Linked DNA regions of Homo sapiens: all the other regions are linked to region 1. Evidence: promoter capture Hi-C in 16 types of primary human blood cells and fetal thymus (Javierre and others, 2016). All regions are on one chromosome and are shown on one strand. Each heading gives the region's core, a stretch centred on a gene start or on the middle of the fragment in contact. The rest is flanking DNA. Distances are from core to core; before and after follow the strand shown.

Region 1 (2,680 bases), core at 113-2,612:
ACACTTCCCTTTTCCTGAGTCTTAAATCTGTCTAACACCACCAGCTTGCCATCTTCCCGGTGTAAAAGTTTTTCTTTTACTGAAGGCTATAATTAAGTGGACTCTTTCTCTCCTGCAAACAAAATATTAATAACCTCAGTGGCTGAATTAGAAATGCCCCAATGTGATGCTGGTGAATAGGGCAGGTGGAGGACAACGTGAGGCCCTTAGACTAGGAGACACAAACTCTGGATTCCGGGCCTGGTCCCACGTTGCCTTCAGTCTGTTTTTACTGGGCACCTAAGCCCCGGGGGTGCGGAAGGAAAGTCAGTCTCTGCTCTCCCGGGAACGTACAGTTTATCTAGAAAGACGAAGTGCACTAGCCCCTGTGCACTGTGGCAGGAGTTTAAAAAGCAGTGAACTCAAGATATTAAGGAAACACAAAGGAAACTTTCCTTGGCTTTTACCCTTGAACCTCGCTGAACTTCTTAGATTCCGTTCATTAAAATTAGAATAATAATTCCTTGTTAATATACTTTGTGGCGTTGCAGGATCCCAAGGGCCAAAGCTCCCAGAAAAATATAAAGAACAACTCAAGGTAGGGATTTTTGATTGGTGAGGTAATGATGCTAATCTGTACATTGAAAAGACTGTTTCATTTCAGCTGTGCTATAGGAAAGCAAACAGTTGCAACTCGCCAGTACCTTATCAAGGAGAGAAAAAAAAAAAGGCCGCGCATGGTGGCTCATGCCTGTAATCCCAGCAGTTTGGGAGGCCGAGGCAGGAGGATTGCTTGAAGCCAGAGTTTGAGACCAGAAATACCAAGACCCTGTCTTTACTAAAAATAAAATTGTCAAGTGTCGTGGCGTGCGCCTGTGGTCCCAGCTACTCAGCAGGGTGAGGTGGGAGGATCGCTTAAGCCCAGGAGTTCGAGGCTGTAGTGAGCTATGATCGTGCCACTGCACTCCAGCCTGGGCAAAAGAGCGAGACCTTGTCTCTAAAAAAACCAAAACGAACCAGGTTCGGCCTAATGCAGAAGGAAATCCGGAGCAATCCCCAAAGTCAACGCCTTGGAAAGGTTCGCCCTGGGTCTCAGTACTCCGGGGCATGCGCGTCCTGCCGCTCGCTCTCGGGGAGCTCCCACCAACACCGCCCTCATCCCCAGCCCCAGGACGGATACCCAAGACCGAGGTCCAGGACCGCACCGACCAAGTCGCGGGCGATCCCTGGCGGCCAGCTACGGCCATTGACCGCTGGGAGCGCGAGGGGCGGGGCGCAGAGCGAGCGCGGGGCGGGGGTGTGGTCTTCTCGCGTGAATTGATGGCGTCATCGAAGCGACGGCCCGGAAGGAAGTCGCGTGCTGAGGGGTGTGACGGTTTTCTTGCTCGTGGGCTCGGACGAGTACGGAGCGCCTGCAGGGACAGCCTGGTACGCGGCCCCCGCCCCTTCGTGCGCGCGCTGGGCCTAGCTGCCGCTCAGGGTCGGGGCTGACCCGTCACTTTCGGGAACCTCAGTCCCAGCAGCTTCTCTCCCTCAGCCGGCCCGCTCCTGGAGAGAGACAGAAACCCTTTTCTGTCGCGTCCTCTCCTTGCGAGCCGCAGGGGGACCGAGCGGAGGCTATTGGAGCCGCAGCCCCAGACCAGGGCGCTTGACCCTCTCTCGGAACGGGGCGGGGAAGGGGCGCGAGTGACCTCGGGGAGGGAAGGGCACTGGCAGGAAAGGACGCAACTGCAGATCGGTAGCCGGAGGCCGCCACGGTAAAATAAGCGCCTCGCAGATGTCCGCGCCCCGGTTACGTTAGACCTGGGAGGCAGAATCCACGCCCTGCGCTCACGGGCCCACGCACGCACAGCTGAACTTTGCAGTCAGTCACCATAGTTCCAGATCATTCAGCGTTCAGGATCCCACTCCTCCGCGTCCTGGTGCCTGAACGCGGTTGGACCTAGGAGCCTAGAGGCTCGCAGTTTGGGACATTGCCTTTCTCTCTGACCACGGGCTTGGGGATCTGTCAGGTGCAAAGTGCCAAAGTATATGGGGGGGAGTGTGGCTTCAGGCTTGTTCAGAGCCCTGTCCTGTTTAGGGCCAAAGGAATAACTGGGAAGGTGGATGCGAGGCCAACGAATCCTACCTTGAAACTCTGCTCGCCTGCTGGCTCTGCCACTCCAGCATCTGAAAGGAGTAAATAATGGTTTCCTTTGAAACTGCAGGCAATTAGGAGTGGGAGACTCTGACCAGAATTACATAGCCACAACTGCCTGTCATTTGGCATCCTCTGTAATTTGGGCCAAAGTACTGCAGCTGCCTCTCTTCCCTACTACTGGTAGGAAAGGTTCAGTGACAGCACATTCGTGTTCACAGGAAGACAAGGCTGTGTTCTGAACCCTACCCAGCTGGCACGGGTTCTCCCTTGAGCAACGGCTGTATCCGGAGCCAGTGCTTCCTCAGTGCGGTGGGGGCTCTAATTTTACAGTTAAAGAAAGGGGAACGTTGACTGAGAACGAGGAGGAAGCGAGTTGTAGATCTAGCCTTGTGTTCACACGACACCAGGCTGGATATGAGTCACTCGCAGGGAGCTCAGCTTGGTGAGGTCCTCTCGCTGTTGTGGCCTTTTCTCCTGCACGTTGGACCACACACATTTTCCCGTGTCTTTTCCCTAGGATAAAGGCTCACTGATGGCTCAGTTGGGAGCAGTTGTGGCTGT
Region 2 (2,680 bases), core at 124-2,623, 880 kb before region 1:
TGTGGTGGCACATGCTTGTAGTCCCGGCTACTCGGGAGGCTGAGGCAGGAGAGTCACTTGAACCTGGGAGACAGAGGCTGCAGTGAGCCAAGATCATGCTACTGCATTCCAAGCTGGTTGACAGAGCAAGACTTCTCTCAAAAAATAAATAAATAAATAAGTAGGCATTTATATCTAAAAATTTCCCTCTAAGCACCTTTAGAAGCATGGTGTATTTTTAATGTGTTATGTTTTTATTTTCATTAATTTAAAATACTTTATAATTTCCCTGTGTTTTCTGTTTTCTTTTTTGTATGTTTTTGACCCATTGTTAAGAAATGTGTTGTTTTTACTTTCACATATTTGTGAATTTTCCTAATTTTCTCTTTTATTGTATTCTTATTTAATTCCATTGAAGTTGGAAAGCATACTTTGTATGACAAATTCTTATAGTATTTTAAGACTTGCTCCATTGTCTAATACATGGTCTATCCTGGAGACTATTCAATGTATACTTGGGAAGATCATGTATTATTCTGTTGTTAGATGGAATGTTATATGGATGTCTGTTAAGTATAGTTGGTTTATAGGGTCGGTTAAGTATAGGTTGGTGTGTGTGTGTGTGATTTTTATTTCTTCCTGTGGATTTGAATTACTGCCTAATGTGCTTGTATTTCAAACTCAAGGAATCCCGTTAGTATTTATTGTAGGGTTTGTCATATGTGAACAAGATCTAAGTTCTTGTTAATCTTAAAAATGTCTTAATTTATCATTTATTTTTGGAGGATAGTTTTGCTAACTATTAAATTCTTTGTTGGCAGTTGTTTCTCATTCAGCGCTTTAAATATTTCATCCTACTTCTTTCTGGCCTCTATTGTTTCAGATTAGAAATAGCTTTCAATTTGATTGGTCATCCTTTCTACACGATGAGTCACTTCTGTCTTGCTGACTTGAAGACCCTCTGTCTTTGAGTCTTACATTTTTGATTATGACAGGTCTCCATGTGTCAATCTCTTTAAATTTATCCTACTAGGAGTTTATTAAGCTTTTTAGTTGTGTAGATTAATGTTTTTCAACCACTTTGAGAAGTTATTGGCCATTATTTCTCAAATATTCACTCTACTCCTTTCTTTACTCTTCTCCTGGATCTTTCATTAAATCCTTTGGTACACTTGATAATGTCCCAGCGGTCCCTTAGGCTGTCTTCATTTTTCTTAATTCCTTTTTTCTTCTGTCCCTCAAACTGTATAATCTTCATTCACCTATCTTTGAGTATGCTGATTCTTTTTTTTTTTTTTGCATGCTCAAGTCTGATCTTTAGTTCCTCTTGTAAAGTTTTTATTTTAGTTCTTGTACTTTGAACTCCAAGATTTCTACTTAAAAAAATTTGTAACTATTTAATGACATTCTCTATTTTGTGAGACATCATTCTCATATTCCTTTTGGTTATTTATATATAGGTTTTTAAAGCTCTTCAAATATATTTAAATTAGCTGATTTTAAAAGTCTTTGACTAGTAAGTACAATATCTGAGCTTCTCTCAAGGATGGTGTCTATTGAGAGCCTTTTTCCTATGTATTTTTATCTTGCTTGTTTCTTTCCAAGTCTTATAACTTTTTGTTGAAAATTAGACATTACACAGGTTATAGTGTGTTATTTATGGAAATCAGATTCTCCAGTAGACTTTCCCAAAGTCTATCTCTCTGTCATTTGTGGCCATTGAATTTTCTACTCAACTTAGTGGTAAGCTTATAATTGGACAATGATTTTTGTTAAACACCTGGAACCAAGAAGTTTCTCAGTCTTTGTCAAAGGATTCTGTGTTTGTGTTGGGGCATGCCTTCAATAGTCAGCTGTAAAGTTGACAACTGTGTTTAGCCTTCATTTTCTGCTTGTATGAAACCTCAAGGTCAGTTAGAGATGAGAGCTTTGGAACTTCTCAGGCCTTTCTGCTTATGCATACAGCTTTACACAGTTCTGGGCATCTTCATTGTCATTTAGATTTCCAGTAATATTCCAGAGTTTTTCAAAGTCCCTTATAAGTAAGAAGACATTTTATTCTTCAGTTTTCCTTTTATGCTTTCATTTGGTCTTCAATTTGCCCTGCTATCTGTTGCCTCAGGCACATGTGACGTTAATATATTTGATAACACTCCCTGGGGATAGGCTTGTAGCACTAGATACATGCAAATGAGGCTGAAAAAGAAAAGCCATTCAAGTAGGGTTATGCAGGGAACCACCAGACAAGTCAAAATAATGACTCTTCTTTGGAAATAAGGCTTTTGAAGAACTGTATTTCTGCTGTACTCCCTCTAGTGCCAAGAATATGGAGTATTATGTTTTGAAAGCTATCGATGAGCTGTGGAGCTGGAGATGAAACTAGTGTAAATTAAAATAACACAAATCTTATATCTCTTACTGCTATCTATTTATTTCTCTCGACTAAATGTTTTCAAGGCTCCTGTTGGTTAGTTTCCAGAGTTCTGAAAAAAAAATAATTCTCACAAGTTTTGCCAGTTTATTCTATTTTTATGGAGGGGCGGCCTATCTCGTGTCCTTCCTCTACCTTTTATTTTATTTTTTTTCTGGTATCTTGTCTTCATTTTTTAAAGATAGTTTTCCTGGGTATAAAATTCTTGGTTGGCAGTTTATTTCAGCACTTTTCAATGACATCTTATTGCCTTCTAACCTCCATTTTTTC
Region 3 (2,680 bases), core at 67-2,566, 870 kb before region 1:
GTTACCATTGGTAAGGTCACTTTGCCATGTCCAAGTCGGCCTATAGCTTGCCATTCTCCCTCCAGAACATTCTTTTCCATGGCAATTCCAGCTCCTTCCTTGGCTATTTTCTAGTGCCTTCCAGTAATCCTATGGCAGTCTTTCATTTCCAACCAAACTGTAGTCCATCCAGAAGGACTGCCAGGATAGGCTTTGCCAAGCTGGAAGCTTGCTAGTAAGTAGTGCACTGGCCATAAAGATGTAAGAGGTTCAATCCAACTGGGATAAGTTGTTTGTTTCTTTTCTGGCACATCTATTTCCAGCCCTACATAATTTATGCTCACGCATGACTCCTGAGACACCTGTCCCTATGACCTCTTATTTTCATGCCCCCTCTGCCATACATACCCTGTTGTCTCAGGAAAAGAAGCTGAGCCCTTCCTCCCTTTTTACTCTCAGTTCTGTACACTTTATCGAATTCTGTGTTCCAAACTATTCAGGCAAGAGAATCCCCATCTTTTAGCCTCAATGATGTCTGAACTCCTACTGAGAGCCAGCCTCTGAGTCCACCTAGTGGGGGCAGAAGATCGGATACAAATCACCGTACATGGCTCTTTTCATGTCATATCTGAGCTTTCTACAGAAACTGATCAGATGAGATTATCTGAGCAATTCCTTTTATCCCTTCTTATTTTATATTAAGCTTTTAAAACTACTTTCCCTCCAGACAAGCATAGGCTTTCCTATTTGAGTGTAATGTAGCCCATAACTAGTAAATCAAAAGCATTCTCTGGTTCTTTCATTCATATAAGCCTACTGAGTGATGCCTTTACTGTAGCATTTCAAATCATGTTCTGGAAATCTACATTCACTTAACACTATATGGCCAGTATTTCATCTTTCAGAGTTACCTTTCCCCAAGAGTCCCATTGGCACTTATGTTTCCCATTCTATGGTTTTCCACCTGAGATTTTAGAACCTTTAAAATATGCTTTCTCTCATTTTAATTGATGGTATAATTTGGGACCACCAGAATCCCTAGCAGGGCTATGTGTCTGCAATGAAGTTTAATAAATATCTTCATCAGGTCTCAATAGCAAGACCAAAGAAGACAGCAGGACTAAATATATTCTCATATAATTATAGGGATAATCTAGAGGTAGGATTGAAAATATACATACACATATACATATAAAAACTATACTTTTAATCACAATGAGCCTGAGTTCCAAAGACAGATGAAAGAGTTAGGGTGGCAGGGAATATAAGAATAAGAATTTTGAAAAGATGACTAGATATTTTCCTTCAGATCCTCTAAATACCTCTTTTCTAGTTCTTATTTTGTATTCATAGGTGAAAATCCCATTTTTGGGAAGCAATGTGCCACAATCCTAGCAAAGTACCATATATATATATATATACATAGAGAGAGAGAGAGAGCGAGCAATAATTCATCAGGTATGTATTGAATAATCTGATTCTTTAGATTAACAAACAAAATTTTATTGTTATTGCTTAAAAATAGCAGAAAAATAGCTTCAGGCTTCTTAAAAGCATCAGAATTGTACCATAGAAAAGTCAGCATCTCTCTTCGTTACTGTCATCTCCCTCATCCTGCCTAGCTTCACAGACTATAATAAAGGAGAGACAAGGCATTTTGTAAATATCTTTGTGAGTCTGTGGACAGGTCTTTTAAAAAACTAAAAACAAATTCTCCTGGAATTACGGGTATGGAAATTGATTTGGCTGGGTGCTAAGATGAGGAAGTGGCCCTCAGATCATTGCGATAAAAATTACTATGGGATGACTGATCATTTACTGAGTGCATATATTTATTTGCATTAGTTAACTACTATTTGCATGCTTTTATTCTTCATTTCATTTATAATCTCCTAAAAGGCAGGAATGAGACCTTGTCTGTTTAGGGTCATATATAAAAGACCAACTCTATAAGACAAAGTGAAGGTTATGCGAAGCTTAGTCACTGTTTCTAAGTAAAACTCTCTTCAAGGCCTTGAGACATGACTTGCATAGTTTCCAAGAAAAAAAAATGTGAAGTAGGCAAATCGCACTGATTTTCACTTTGTGTTATTTGCCCTCTGAGTAACACCTTATCATCATCTTTCTCAGGGGCTCACAGTCCCCAGGTATTTAAATGTCCTCATCAACATCTATTATTTAAAACTTCATTTGCAAAAACAGAAGAATAAAATATTAACCCTTCTGGGGCAGCTTCCCTTTCATCATGGATCAGGGACTTCAGCTAAGGAACAAAGCCCTAACTAACAAATTTCAGGTGTCAACGTATAGGGGAGGTATAATTTTAGGCAACATCCAATAAGAGTCTTCTATGTACATCCAATACCACATCTCGAAGCCTATCGCATGCTATGCTATGTTAGCTTTTTGGCTTCAGAAAGAGAGATAAAGGGGGACGCCGCCCCGCCCTGTAACTATGGTGGGGGCTCCAGCAGTAAACTGTAGATTGTCAGATCACAGCTCTGTGATGTTCATGCTCTGTGACCATAAGCAAGTCACTTACTGTCCTGTGGCTCAGATCCCCCATCCAGTAAAATAAATAATACAATCTCATAGAAATGATGAGAAGATTAAGTATAAGACTTTGAGAGAAGTTCCCAGCATTGAGTAGTAAGCCTTCAATAAATGCTAGCAATTATCACTACACAAGAGTCAGGAGTTT
Region 4 (2,680 bases), core at 135-2,634, 590 kb before region 1:
GCCATGAGCTGAAGCCAGGAACTAAACGTGAAAAAAAATATTTTATTAATTTTTTTTGTTTTTCTCTTAATTCATTCCCCAGCCTGGTCAAGTCACTGACATATTTTATCCAGCCTTCAAGAAGACAGAGTATGTATTCATCAAAGGGAATTCATGCTAGAATCCTGTACTTTCCTATGGGTCAGGACTGCCAACAACAACAACAACAACAAAAGTCATGTATATTCCAGTTAATAAACATTTAATTTCATATAATATAAAATCATATACTGTTTTCTTTCTCTTTATTTCACTTGATGTCTGAGATTGGTGTTTCCATGGTATATACAGATAAATGAGCAAAGCTTATGGGTTCATCTCACAAATGTCTAATTTCAGTGTTGAAATTAGACCCCATGATGTTGGGGGTCAAGATCATGGCAAACAGCAGTGAAAAAAATCTGGCCAACAAGGCATCCAGAAACAACTCCTGTCACCCGTATTCTCAACCTAGCTGAAGGGACGTGGACTATATGACTCCACGATTCTCTTGCCTTTGTCGGGAATCCCAGCAGTTGGGAACACGCAGATAAATATTAAATATGACCTAGTCGTCACAGTGACCTCTGTGGCAGTGAAGGGAGATCTATTACTTCAGCCTCTCTAACAGAAGCTTGCAACCTTGATCTGTTTGTCCGCCTGTCTGTCCAGCTGTCTGTCTCTGTCCCACCACTTTCTAGGCTGTGATTGGGTCCAGGGATTACAGCGGCTCTGGGTGGGAAGCTTGTAAATGACAAGTAACAGATGCTCTGCCAAAAAAGTGATCATACCAGAAATGGACTAAGTTAAACCAGACTACATCCACCCACCCCATCTCACCATGACCCCACACCTCAGGAAGGAGGAACGCCTTAGAAGGCTTTGTATAAACGAAGACAGGGCTGTGCACACTTCCCACTCAATGACTCATGCATCATGGAATTAGAGGCCCCAACCATGCACTCATAAACAGCAAATGGAAAACAAACACACTGAGCACGCCCACAAGTGTCGTTTCCTTCCTCCTCCCCGCCTCACCTACACACTCCCACCATCCAGGCCCCAGGCCTCTGTGCTGCAAAGTCCAACCGGGGGGACTCTGTGAATGCTGGGATGATTAACGCAAGCTGGCTGCAAGAAGGAGACCCCCAGGATGAGGGATGCCACTGGATCTGAGATTGCCCTGGGACTCAGGATTTTTCCCACACAGGGAGATCATCAGAGAGAAACCTCCTCTTTGCGTCAACTACAATCACAGACAACTTTTTCATTATATGACACATAGACATGGTATGCTTGCAGCCATAATGACATATAATCCCTAAAACATTTTTATGAGGTGAGTGGTATTAGCCTCACTTTACAGGAAATGAATGAAACCTAGGCTCAGAGATAGGCTGGAGGCCACACAGCACTGAGGGATGATCTGCCTCCAGAAGAAAAGAATTTCCACTACTCCATGGGAGAAAAGGCAAATTTGTCTGAGTGCAAACTCACATCATATCAGCCTCTCTGACCCACTCAGGACTGCTTCCCAGTCAATGGTCAAGGAAACAGGCAGGAGCCTCCACCTCCTACATCTACCCCACGCCTGCCTTAAATATTCTCAGGAAGCCAAGAATTCACTTCCCTTCCCTCCACCCAGGCAGGCAGGGCCTATATTGGGCTGGAATGCGAAGGTAGCCAGGGAAACAGAGCCCATGGCTAGACGTTATCAAGGGCCTGCGGCCTGCATGGCTCCTTAAGAGAAACAGGATGGGTGGAAGATGTTCATTATTCAGATCCTCATTAACAAAATTATACTTACCTTGAACCTGCTCCTGCAGAAAACAGACTGGGATGGAGTCCATTGCCTCACCTTTCCCCAAGCAATGATGCTCAAATGGAGGTGGCAGGCCTCCTCTCTGTCTCATTCCCCATCTCTCTATTCCAATCCCGCTCTTACTATGTGAATAAAAGATGGCCTCATCTAAAAAGAAAGAAAAGAACAAGCTTAGGGAAGAAAATATCTAAAATAAAAGGATTCATCCCAGCAAGAATACCTGGAAGCCTCATGGCTAGCAATGCTTTAAAGAGAAACAAACTTTTATTATTCAGTTAACAAATGAAAGCTTTAAGTCTTAGCAATGTACTGGCCAGGAGGGAATGTGAAGATGAAGAAGATACTTTGCTTGTCCTTAAAGAGTCCTACTGGGTGTTTCTCAGTGCCTTCCAGGGACAGTTGCTGCACACTCATCACACACTGACACGCGCCCTCTGCCTTGACTGTTAGAACTGGAGCCAGAAACACAAATATGTGGATTCTGGAACTGGAGTCAGAAAAAAATGTGGAATACAGAATTCTCACAAGGCCCCTTTTGGCGTTATTCTCTAAGCCAACATGGCACCAAATTCCTGGAAACTGCTCCAGAGTACCTTCTCCTACACCCTTACTTAATTTGCCAAAACCCTGTGGCACATCAGAATCTGCCATGGGGTTTTGCAGAGGCTGAGTAGTGGGCTGAACTCCCCATTGCACTCTGACCAGATAGTACAGCCCCTTCTTCATCTATCAGTTAGACTCAGAAAGCCGTCATGTTGAATTTGGAGGAACGGTTTTCCCCTGGCAAAATAGAAACCACTTTTGAAAACCACTGAAGAGGTTATCTGAGCTATTTTCCAG
Region 5 (2,680 bases), core at 63-2,562, 580 kb before region 1:
AATAAGAGCAAATTCAGGATGGATCCTTAAACAGAGTGGATTCTGAATAAGACAGCCAGCACTATTCCATACCCAACACCTCTGCTTACTATACAGATATGGAGACAAAATATGTGAAAACTCAACAAATATTTATTGGGGCCTACTCTGAGCCAGAAACTGTCTGGGCTGGAATATAAAACAGTGAGTAAAAATGGGGAAAGTACTGGCTCCATGGCGTCACATCCCAGAGGGGTGACAGTAACTGAATCAGTTTAACACACAAATGCAACCATTTCAGAGAGTGAGGAAGACAATCCCTAATTTGGGGGATGGGAGTGGTAACGGGAAGGCAGGACAATGTAGGACAGGCAGCCAGGGAACTCCCCATGAAGGAGGTCACATCTGAGTTGAGGTCTTAATGGGGATCAGATACTCTACCTCCCAATTCTATCAATATTTAGGTCCAAATCTTCTTTTCCAGAAAGTCACTCCAAACACTTGCTTTCCAGTCTGGGCAACAAAGTGAAACTGATTCTACAAAATGTTTTAAAAATTAGTCAGGCATAGTGGCACATGCCTATAGTACCAGCTACTCCAGAGGCTGAGGTGGGAGGATCACTTGAGCCCAGGACATCAGGGCTGCCGTCAACTATGATTGCACCGCTGCATTCCAGCCTAGGCAACAGAGAAAGACCCTGTCTCTTAAAAAAAATAAATGCTTAGTGCAATTATTTCTGTATATGGATGATGGATGATGAATTTAACATTAGAATCTCAACTCAAATAAATGATGTACAATAATTATGAGAAACAAAAACAAAATACTATTTCCAGGAGAAGCACATCTCTGGGCATCCGCACATGCCCACGTGAGCAGGTCACATTCCAAACTCTTCAGCACCCCTGGAGAAACAGGACCAACAGCCCTGTCCCCTGCAGAAGTCCTGTGCAAACCACCACGCCTCCCAGAGTCACATTCTGATGAGGAAATCAGTAGCAGAAAATGCTCCCAACGGGAACCCCTTCTGTTTTGCTGATCTTGTAAATCATCTGAATTCAACGTGTCACAGGCATGTCTTACAATACACAAGATAATGCCCAGATTTTGTAGTGCAAAAGCATATTAACCTTTGTGGACTCTAGCAGGGTTCCGACAAAGAATGTCTGGTAAAAACTGCAGGGCTCATGGTAATTGCTTGCCATGCCGGTAAACGATCCAGAGCTGTGTGAAGATAACAAGAAACTGCTGAAGGCAAGTCACCTGGGTTTTATTATGCTCACCCTAAAAAATAATTAGCAATGCCTATGAAATCATACTGTGAGGAGTTTGTAGGGCTTTTTTTTCCAAGAAGGAAATTATAACCTACCTAGCTTTCCTTTGTACAAGGAGATTTAGGGGCTGTGTGTGTGTGCGTTTCCCTGACAAGCAAAGATAAATGGAAAAGTTGATGTTAAAAAAAATACCATGTCAGAAGCAACGAGAGGAGTGCTCATTGTAAACACAGCTGTTACCCCCACTCTGTCCAAGCCAGGACAAAGCCACACCCAGGAAGCTGACCCCCAAATCCTCTATGCTGCTGTGTGAAGGTGGCATCTTTGAGAAATATAACTTCTGTTTAGTTAATAAAATGTACGTTTATGCCCTAGTATATGCATATTCCATCCCCTTTTGACCGGGAAAAAAAAAAAACAATGAAAAATGTTTTCTAACTCTTCAGCGCCCACTTCCAAAATAAAGTGGGCCAGATGCTGAGACCTCACATTGCTTGGTGGCCTTGGCTTGCCCAAGGGGACTGGAAATTGTACCCAATCTTGCATAAGAGAGAAAGTTCTACCCGAAGCCTGAGCAAACCTCAAGACCAGAGGAGGCCACCAGAGCTTCTGCAAGAGGCCCGAGTGTCCCACAGGAGTCCTCAGCACTGCACACCTCAGTCCCCCTGAACTGTCCAAGGCCACCAAGCAACCCGAGGCCTCAGCATCTGGCCAGGTTCATTTTGGGAGTGGGCATTGGAGAGTTAGAAAATATTTTTCATTAGTTTTTTTCCCAGTCAAAGGGGGATGAAATACGCATATTCTAGAGCATAAACACACCTTGTATTAACTAAATGGAAGTAAAACACCACCTTCACAGAAACATGTTCATTTTCAGCACATAGACTAGATTGTCCTAGCAGTTCAGCAGGTTTTGAATCATGAGTTTGATGAGTAAAAGTCATGTTCAGATTGTTTATTCCCTGAAACTCCTGGACACTCAAATCTCCAGAGGAGAGGGTGGCTGCTTAGCACAGAAAGTGTCTGAACCTCATTGCTTTTTGCAAAGAAGGAAAGGAGCTGAGCTTTGGTTCCAGCACAGTAAGAGTGTGAGGCAGGAGAGGGCTGTCTCCTCCCTTGAGGTGGCCACAAGTTGCCTCTCTGTGGAAAGAGCTCACCCTCCAAACCAGGAGAATGGAGTGGTGTCTCATCTGCCAGGGCAGAGTTGGTCCACCTTAGGTAGTCCCTGTATTAGTCCGTTTTCATGCTGCTGATAAAGACATACCTGAGACTGGGCAATTTACAAAAGAAAGAGGTTTATTGGACTTACAGTTCCACATGGCTGGGGAGGCCTCACAATCATGATGGAAGGCAAGGAGGAACAAGTCACATCTTATGTGGATGGCAGCAGGCAAAGAGAGAGCTTGTGCAGAGAAACTCCATTTTT
Region 6 (2,680 bases), core at 135-2,634, 560 kb before region 1:
CTAACAAGTGTGTCTTTGTGCTCAAGTCTTTCTCAGGAGCTGTACTAGGGGCTGTAGGGGCTGCAAAAAGTGAAGGCGAGGGTGAGACATTGGCTTTGTAGTTGCAGCACTTAGAATCTAGTGGAGGGAACAGGACTTAGCATGAGGAATAATTGGAGCTTAGCACAAATGCTCAGGAGTGTGGAGTAGACCAGTGCTCAGTGAAGGAGGAGGGGGTCCACGCACACGGGGTCTGGGGAGGTTGATGGTGGGCAGAGCTTGGCAGAAAGGAGAGGTGAGGGCATCTCCCAGTGAGCACAGACTCACAGACAAGAAAGGGCACGATGTAACCCTCCCCTACCATTGATTGCTTCTGGAACTCTATCACTAATGCCCACTGTAGGCACAAATCACACAAAACACCATGTCAACACTCACTCATGCAGCTCATACTTTATCTGCAAAGGTTGACATGAAGAACTGTATTCTCCAGTCTCCTAAGAAAAGACACCTGTGGGTCCCCTGTAGAACACAGGGGGATGAGACGTCAGGCAGCCCAGTGGTCTCCACTTGTACTCATCTCTATAGTGTTGTTTTACCTGTATCACAGCACCTTAGGGAGGGGGTTCCAGGAACAGGAAAGCTAGCAAAGACTGTCTCCTATCCCAGGCACCTCCCTCCCATCTGATGACATGCAGAAGATACCCCCTTCCTTGAAGGGCCAACCAGCCTCTGCTTACCACGTTTGAGAATTAATTTTGTGACTGAGTGAATAAACCAAGGAACAAACAAAGAGACACAAAACTGTTCTTTTCTCTGCTGAGAGCGTAGGACTTGGCAGTCCTTTTGTTAGAGAGGGAAGCTTCGTCCCACGTGATTTCGCTAAGCCTTCGCCCCAAGATACTTCCTCTCCTGCCTCCAACACACAAAACCCCTTTTTCCTAGGGGAGCCAAACCAAAGAACCCCACATATTCTGAAGCCCCAGATGTGGTTTCACAGCCACACCAAACAAGGAGCCTTTGGAAGGGGTGGCCCTGAGAAACCAGACCAGGCTCTTCTCGAAGCATATTTGCCTCCTTTGGTCTCCAGAGATTGATTTCCACTTTGCAAGGAGTCATTATAAAAACCTCGGGATGGTCAAAAGGGGTTCTGACCTCCACTGGGTATGGGGACAACAGTGGGTGGGGTGGCCACAGAAAGGACGTAATATAGCTCCCTGGGGAGTGCTCACCCCTCTCCCTCCCCTTTCCCCCTCTGGCTTCTCTTCCCTCCTGTCTCCTCTCCCTCCCTCTTCTTTCTTCTTCTCTCTCCCCCTCCCCCCACTTGCCTATCCCCCCCAGCCTCTCTCTCTCTCTCTCTCTCTATTTCTCTCTCTCCCTCCCTCTCTCTCTCTCAGGCCTGCCATGCAGCAGCAGGGGTCACTGTGCACCAGCGGGAGGAGCCCAGCTCACAGCTCCATGCAGGACCAGCATCAGGATGAACTCCTGGCCCTGGCCCTGCCTGCAGACAGGAGGCCAAGGCCAGGCCATCATGCTGGTGCTGTCTGTCTCCCTATGCCTCCAGAAGTAATTACCTTTGCAGAAAAGGGACTGCAAAAATAATCCTGTAGACATCATGCGAGGACAGGTAAGACAGAGCGCTCTGCAACCTAAGCACACATCTGATCATAGAGGTAAACGAACCAGAGATAAATAAAACTCATCCTCAACCACTCACGAAGTACCCTCTGACCCCTGCTGTGGCATCTTAACCCACACCATGTCCTGAACATCCTTTCTCGAATGTTTGCTCTTGACCCAGTCAGCTCCTTCTAAGGCAAGGATTCCCTTTGATGAGGGTTCCAGCCCCCAAGGTCACGCACCACAAGGCTGGGAGGGTCCTCAGAGACCAGCACCCGCCCAGTAGTTTTAGTCCTGGATTCATGAGGGCTCCCAGGCCCTGGGTCTCAGAAGCTTCTGAGGTGGGAGAGATAGAACCCTGGGAGTGGGCCAGGTCTCTGCCAGAGATTGATTCAAGTGAATTTGGGTTTCCCAATATTTCATTTTTTAAGCCTCCTTCTGTTCATGCAAAACAAAACAAGCAAAAATTGAAAAACACTGTCCTAGCTCAACAATTTCCCATGTGGATAGAAGTTTCAGGGAGTTCAGCACCCTTCCCATTATCACACAGCCTGTGTTGGCCACCTGGTCCGTCAAGGTGGAGGGGAGCAGGGCAGGTGGAGTGAACTCAGGAGAGGAAAATCAAACAGAATGGCAGCCCAGGAGCCCCAGAGGGGCAGAGAGCCAGGTTAGAGGCATACACATGGGTGCTTCTGGGCTCCCTTGAAGCAGGCCACCCTCGGCCCCCAACCTGGCCCACACTCTCTCCGCACCTCCGTCTGTCCTCCTGCCCGCATCATGAGTGCCTGCCGTTATATTTGCCATCCACTGGGTGTCCTGCAAGCAGTGACTGTGGACACGGTGCAGAGATGTTCGTGGTGGGTTCTAAGTGATACAGGCTTCTGCCTGAGCAGGATCTCAGCTGCTGGAAGCCCCAGTAAGACTAATGGGCAAGGTAAATTATTTTCTCTTCTGCTGAAGCACAATTTTCTATCCATTTCCTCCTTTTGACGTGTACAGTAGGATAAAAAGAGAGGAGGAGGAAGGCAAGGGGGGAGAAGGGAATGGAAAACACTTAGACTTTCAATGGAGGCTCATTTTG
Region 7 (2,680 bases), core at 124-2,623, 540 kb before region 1:
AAACAATTCAGCAGATCCACCAAGAGCTGGTGAAGAGGTCACAGCTGACAAGAAATAGCAATGAAATTTTGGAAGCAATTAGTAAACAGGTAAATGACAATAGAAATAGCAGACAAGAAAAAGCTAAACTACATTGGCAGCACGGGAGAGCCTCAAGAACCAGCCACTTCACAGCATAGTCCCAGAAGGCTCAGGAATTGGAGGTACCAAATGCCTCTGCAGCAAGGGTGCAGAGCAGGGCTATCCATATAAGGACTGGTTAAAAGTCTTTAAAAGAAGGAGTCAGGCTCACAGACGCCCTCTTCTACCCATGTAGCCAGGTGGCCCTCTTTGCTCCAGTAGGAGTCTAAAGGATTACTCCATAGCAGTGGTTTTCAAAGTGGGGACCTGAGACCAGCAGGGTTAGTATTACCTGGGAACTGGCTAGAAAGGTACATTTTCAGGCCTCACCCCAGACCTGCTGAATCGGACACTCTAAAATGGGGCTCACCAATCTGTGTTTCAATAAGCCCTCTCTAGATGATTCTGATGCAAGCTAAAGTCTGGGAACTACTGCTCTAAGTAGAGATTGAGCCAGACAGGGTCTGACACCGAGGACAACAGCAGTTGCTGAAAACATAATGAACCAATTATTAAAGAGAGGGGAAATTGACACACAGAACATTAAGCCCTCCAGTGCACATCTTCTCAGCTCCCAAAATGTTCACGGCTGTTGTGATTTCTATGGTTATGGTTTGTTCTAATTTGTCTTGAGGTGTCTCTCTCTTAAGAGTGGCCATAAGCCAAGATAGCCACTCTGCAGGAGACTGCTGACAGAGGGGAAAGTTAGGTTTATGTGTGTATCAGGTAAGACACAATAAGGAGGTGAAACTAAAATGCATGAAACAGAAGAAATGTATTATTCACAGGTCAGAGAGACTTGGTGCCCAAGGCAGGCCAGTGTGAAGTCTGGAGACAGCAGGGAGATCACCCACTGAGCAAGTCAGTGAGCCTGTCGGGGCCACCTTCATCAAAGCCCATGGGTATTACCCTTCAGGCTTCCCTAAGGGGGCTGTGAATTGGCTAGTTTATGGAAAACACTCCAGAGGGGAAAAACTTATTTACATGATCTGGTATTGACCATTAGGTTTTATTGTGATCAGCAGCTGAGGGGTGTGTTGGGTTTGGGGTCAATGAGATGAAGAACAAGAGGGTTATATCACAAACAACCACATAGGGAGGGGAAGCTTTAACTAGGCCAAAGGTGGCAGGGTAGAAATGGGTTTCAGATAACGTATGTCAGCCTAGAAATGGGTGCAGAGGCAGCAACTACATTAAACACATTTATGACAGCAGCTAAGCTGACATACCTGATGCAGGATACTTAAGGATTCTCCCCTGGGAAACTGATGGGCCTAAGAGAAAATATCTGTGGTTAGTGACATTAAGGGAGGGGAGGGGATCCCCACATGAAATGGCTGGGTCCTAGCCCAATCAGCCTGCAAGCAAAGCCCCAAACCAAGAGGCCTCCTTCTGGGAAACAAAGCTTCCAAGCAACCCCGCCTTCATTACAAACTGACATGCAGTGATTACTAGACCTGTGGGGAACTCCTAACACATGAAAGAAAAAGACCAAAACAAAAACAAGCAAGCAAAACAGAAACAAGAAACTTGTTATAAATGAAGGCAATGCAGACAAGAGGAGAAAATTTGAAAAGAAAATTTAAACTCTGGTTAATCATTTCAAAAGGATAAAAGAAGATGTGCCTTCATGAAACAGGATCAGGGAACTCTTCAAAAATGAGGATGTTGAAATCAGTCCTCAGATCTTGACCATATAGCAAACCAGTTCAGGCTGTTGGTTCCTCCCTTCAATATCAACCTGAGAAATGAAAAACCCAGTGGTTCTCATTACTTCACATGCATGGGAATTACTTGGAAGGCTTGTTAAGCTAAGTTGGCTGGGTCTCACCCTCCATCAGCAGGAGAATATCAGGAAAGTGCGAAAGTGTTGTTGGGGTGAAGAGTGAGGAAAATAGGGGTTGACCAAGCAACTATTTTGGGTATTTACTCTCCGCCCAGGAATTCCTTGTTCTGAGAATTTAAAGCAAAACCCTGGTCAGAGAAAGTACCTAATAAGAGTGGGGGCAATTTTGAGTGACCAGCAATAATTCTGTAGGGTTTAACTGTCTTTACCACCTGGGGTTCATCATCTACCATCTCTTTAAACCCAGTGAGTAAAACACAGTCTACATGACATCAGTTCTTCCCCAAAGGGAAATATCCCCAAAGGAACTTGAGCCTACATGCCAGAATAACCACTCAAGGAGTACAACCACTCAAGGAGTACAACCACTCAAAAGAAAGGCAACTAAATAAAAAATGTCGACCATCTAAAGCCAAATGATTAGCTTAAGCAGATCAATAATTTAAATAGGCTTACCAAATAAAGATATAAGGGATAATATAAGCATAAAGAAAGAACCAAGTGGAAATATTATAGATGATAATGGAAATAAAGAATCAAATATTCAGCAATTTACATGATGGATAGAGCAAAAAAAAAAAAAAGAAAAAGAATTAAGGAGTTGTAAAATGTAACAGAAGAGCTTTTCCTGAAAGGAGCAGGAGATGGAAAACAATTTTTTAAAGTTAAGAAACTTGTCTAAAAGAAGGGTCAATAACAGTAAATAAGAATGAG

The links. The method cuts DNA at HindIII sites, captures the fragments that hold promoters and counts their contacts. A CHiCAGO score of 5 or more calls a contact.
Region 2: a contact is called between a fragment that was not itself captured here and the fragment with the promoter of ERLIN2 in region 1, in 5 of 17 cell types (M0 macrophages, M2 macrophages, endothelial precursors and 2 more). The highest score is 11.2, in M0 macrophages.
Region 3: a fragment that was not itself captured here is called in contact with the fragment with the promoter of ERLIN2 in region 1 in 2 of 17 cell types (megakaryocytes and M1 macrophages); the score reaches 5.4 in megakaryocytes.
Region 4: a fragment that was not itself captured here is called in contact with the fragment with the promoter of ERLIN2 in region 1 in 1 of 17 cell types (endothelial precursors); the score reaches 7.2 in endothelial precursors.
Region 5: a contact is called between a fragment that was not itself captured here and the fragment with the promoter of ERLIN2 in region 1, in 3 of 17 cell types (M0 macrophages, M1 macrophages and M2 macrophages). The highest score is 6.2, in M0 macrophages.
Region 6: a fragment that was not itself captured here is called in contact with the fragment with the promoter of ERLIN2 in region 1 in 3 of 17 cell types (M2 macrophages, M0 macrophages and M1 macrophages); the score reaches 11.1 in M2 macrophages.
Region 7: a fragment that was not itself captured here is called in contact with the fragment with the promoter of ERLIN2 in region 1 in 2 of 17 cell types (M1 macrophages and M0 macrophages); the score reaches 6.0 in M1 macrophages.

The regions. Positions count from the first base shown.
Region 1 is chr8:37,735,272-37,737,951 of GRCh38, forward strand. ERLIN2 (ER lipid raft associated 2) reads left to right here and starts at 1,363. Exons shown (of 12, transcript NM_007175.8): 1 at 1,363-1,407; 2 at 2,637-2,680. The coding sequence starts at 2,652. It overlaps LOC102723701 (a long non-coding RNA gene), which reads right to left and starts at 2,155. Exons shown (of 2, transcript NR_125821.1): 1 at 2,108-2,155; 2 at 1-1,527. RefSeq lists enhancers at 1,236-1,445, 1,925-2,680. The HindIII fragment of the contact is 8,102 bases long and covers 1-2,680 here.
Region 2 is chr8:36,853,210-36,855,889 of GRCh38, forward strand. The region is part of intron 18 of KCNU1 (potassium calcium-activated channel subfamily U member 1); the gene reads left to right. Among named protein-coding and RNA genes, the nearest start is that of KCNU1, 70 kb to the left of the region's middle. The HindIII fragment of the contact is 703 bases long and covers 1,023-1,725 here.
Region 3 is chr8:36,870,008-36,872,687 of GRCh38, forward strand. All of the region lies in intron 19 of KCNU1 (potassium calcium-activated channel subfamily U member 1), which reads left to right. Among named protein-coding and RNA genes, the nearest start is that of KCNU1, 87 kb to the left of the region's middle. The HindIII fragment of the contact is 1,273 bases long and covers 681-1,953 here.
Region 4 is chr8:37,142,010-37,144,689 of GRCh38, forward strand. No RefSeq gene overlaps it. Among named protein-coding and RNA genes, the nearest start is that of KCNU1, 360 kb to the left of the region's middle. RefSeq lists an enhancer at 739-1,938. The HindIII fragment of the contact is 1,248 bases long and covers 761-2,008 here.
Region 5 is chr8:37,159,521-37,162,200 of GRCh38, forward strand. No RefSeq gene overlaps it. Among named protein-coding and RNA genes, the nearest start is that of KCNU1, 380 kb to the left of the region's middle. The HindIII fragment of the contact is 5,502 bases long and covers 1-2,680 here.
Region 6 is chr8:37,178,600-37,181,279 of GRCh38, forward strand. No RefSeq gene overlaps it. Among named protein-coding and RNA genes, the nearest start is that of KCNU1, 400 kb to the left of the region's middle. The HindIII fragment of the contact is 1,091 bases long and covers 840-1,930 here.
Region 7 is chr8:37,195,034-37,197,713 of GRCh38, forward strand. No RefSeq gene overlaps it. Among named protein-coding and RNA genes, the nearest start is that of LINC01605, 400 kb to the right of the region's middle. The HindIII fragment of the contact is 299 bases long and covers 1,225-1,523 here.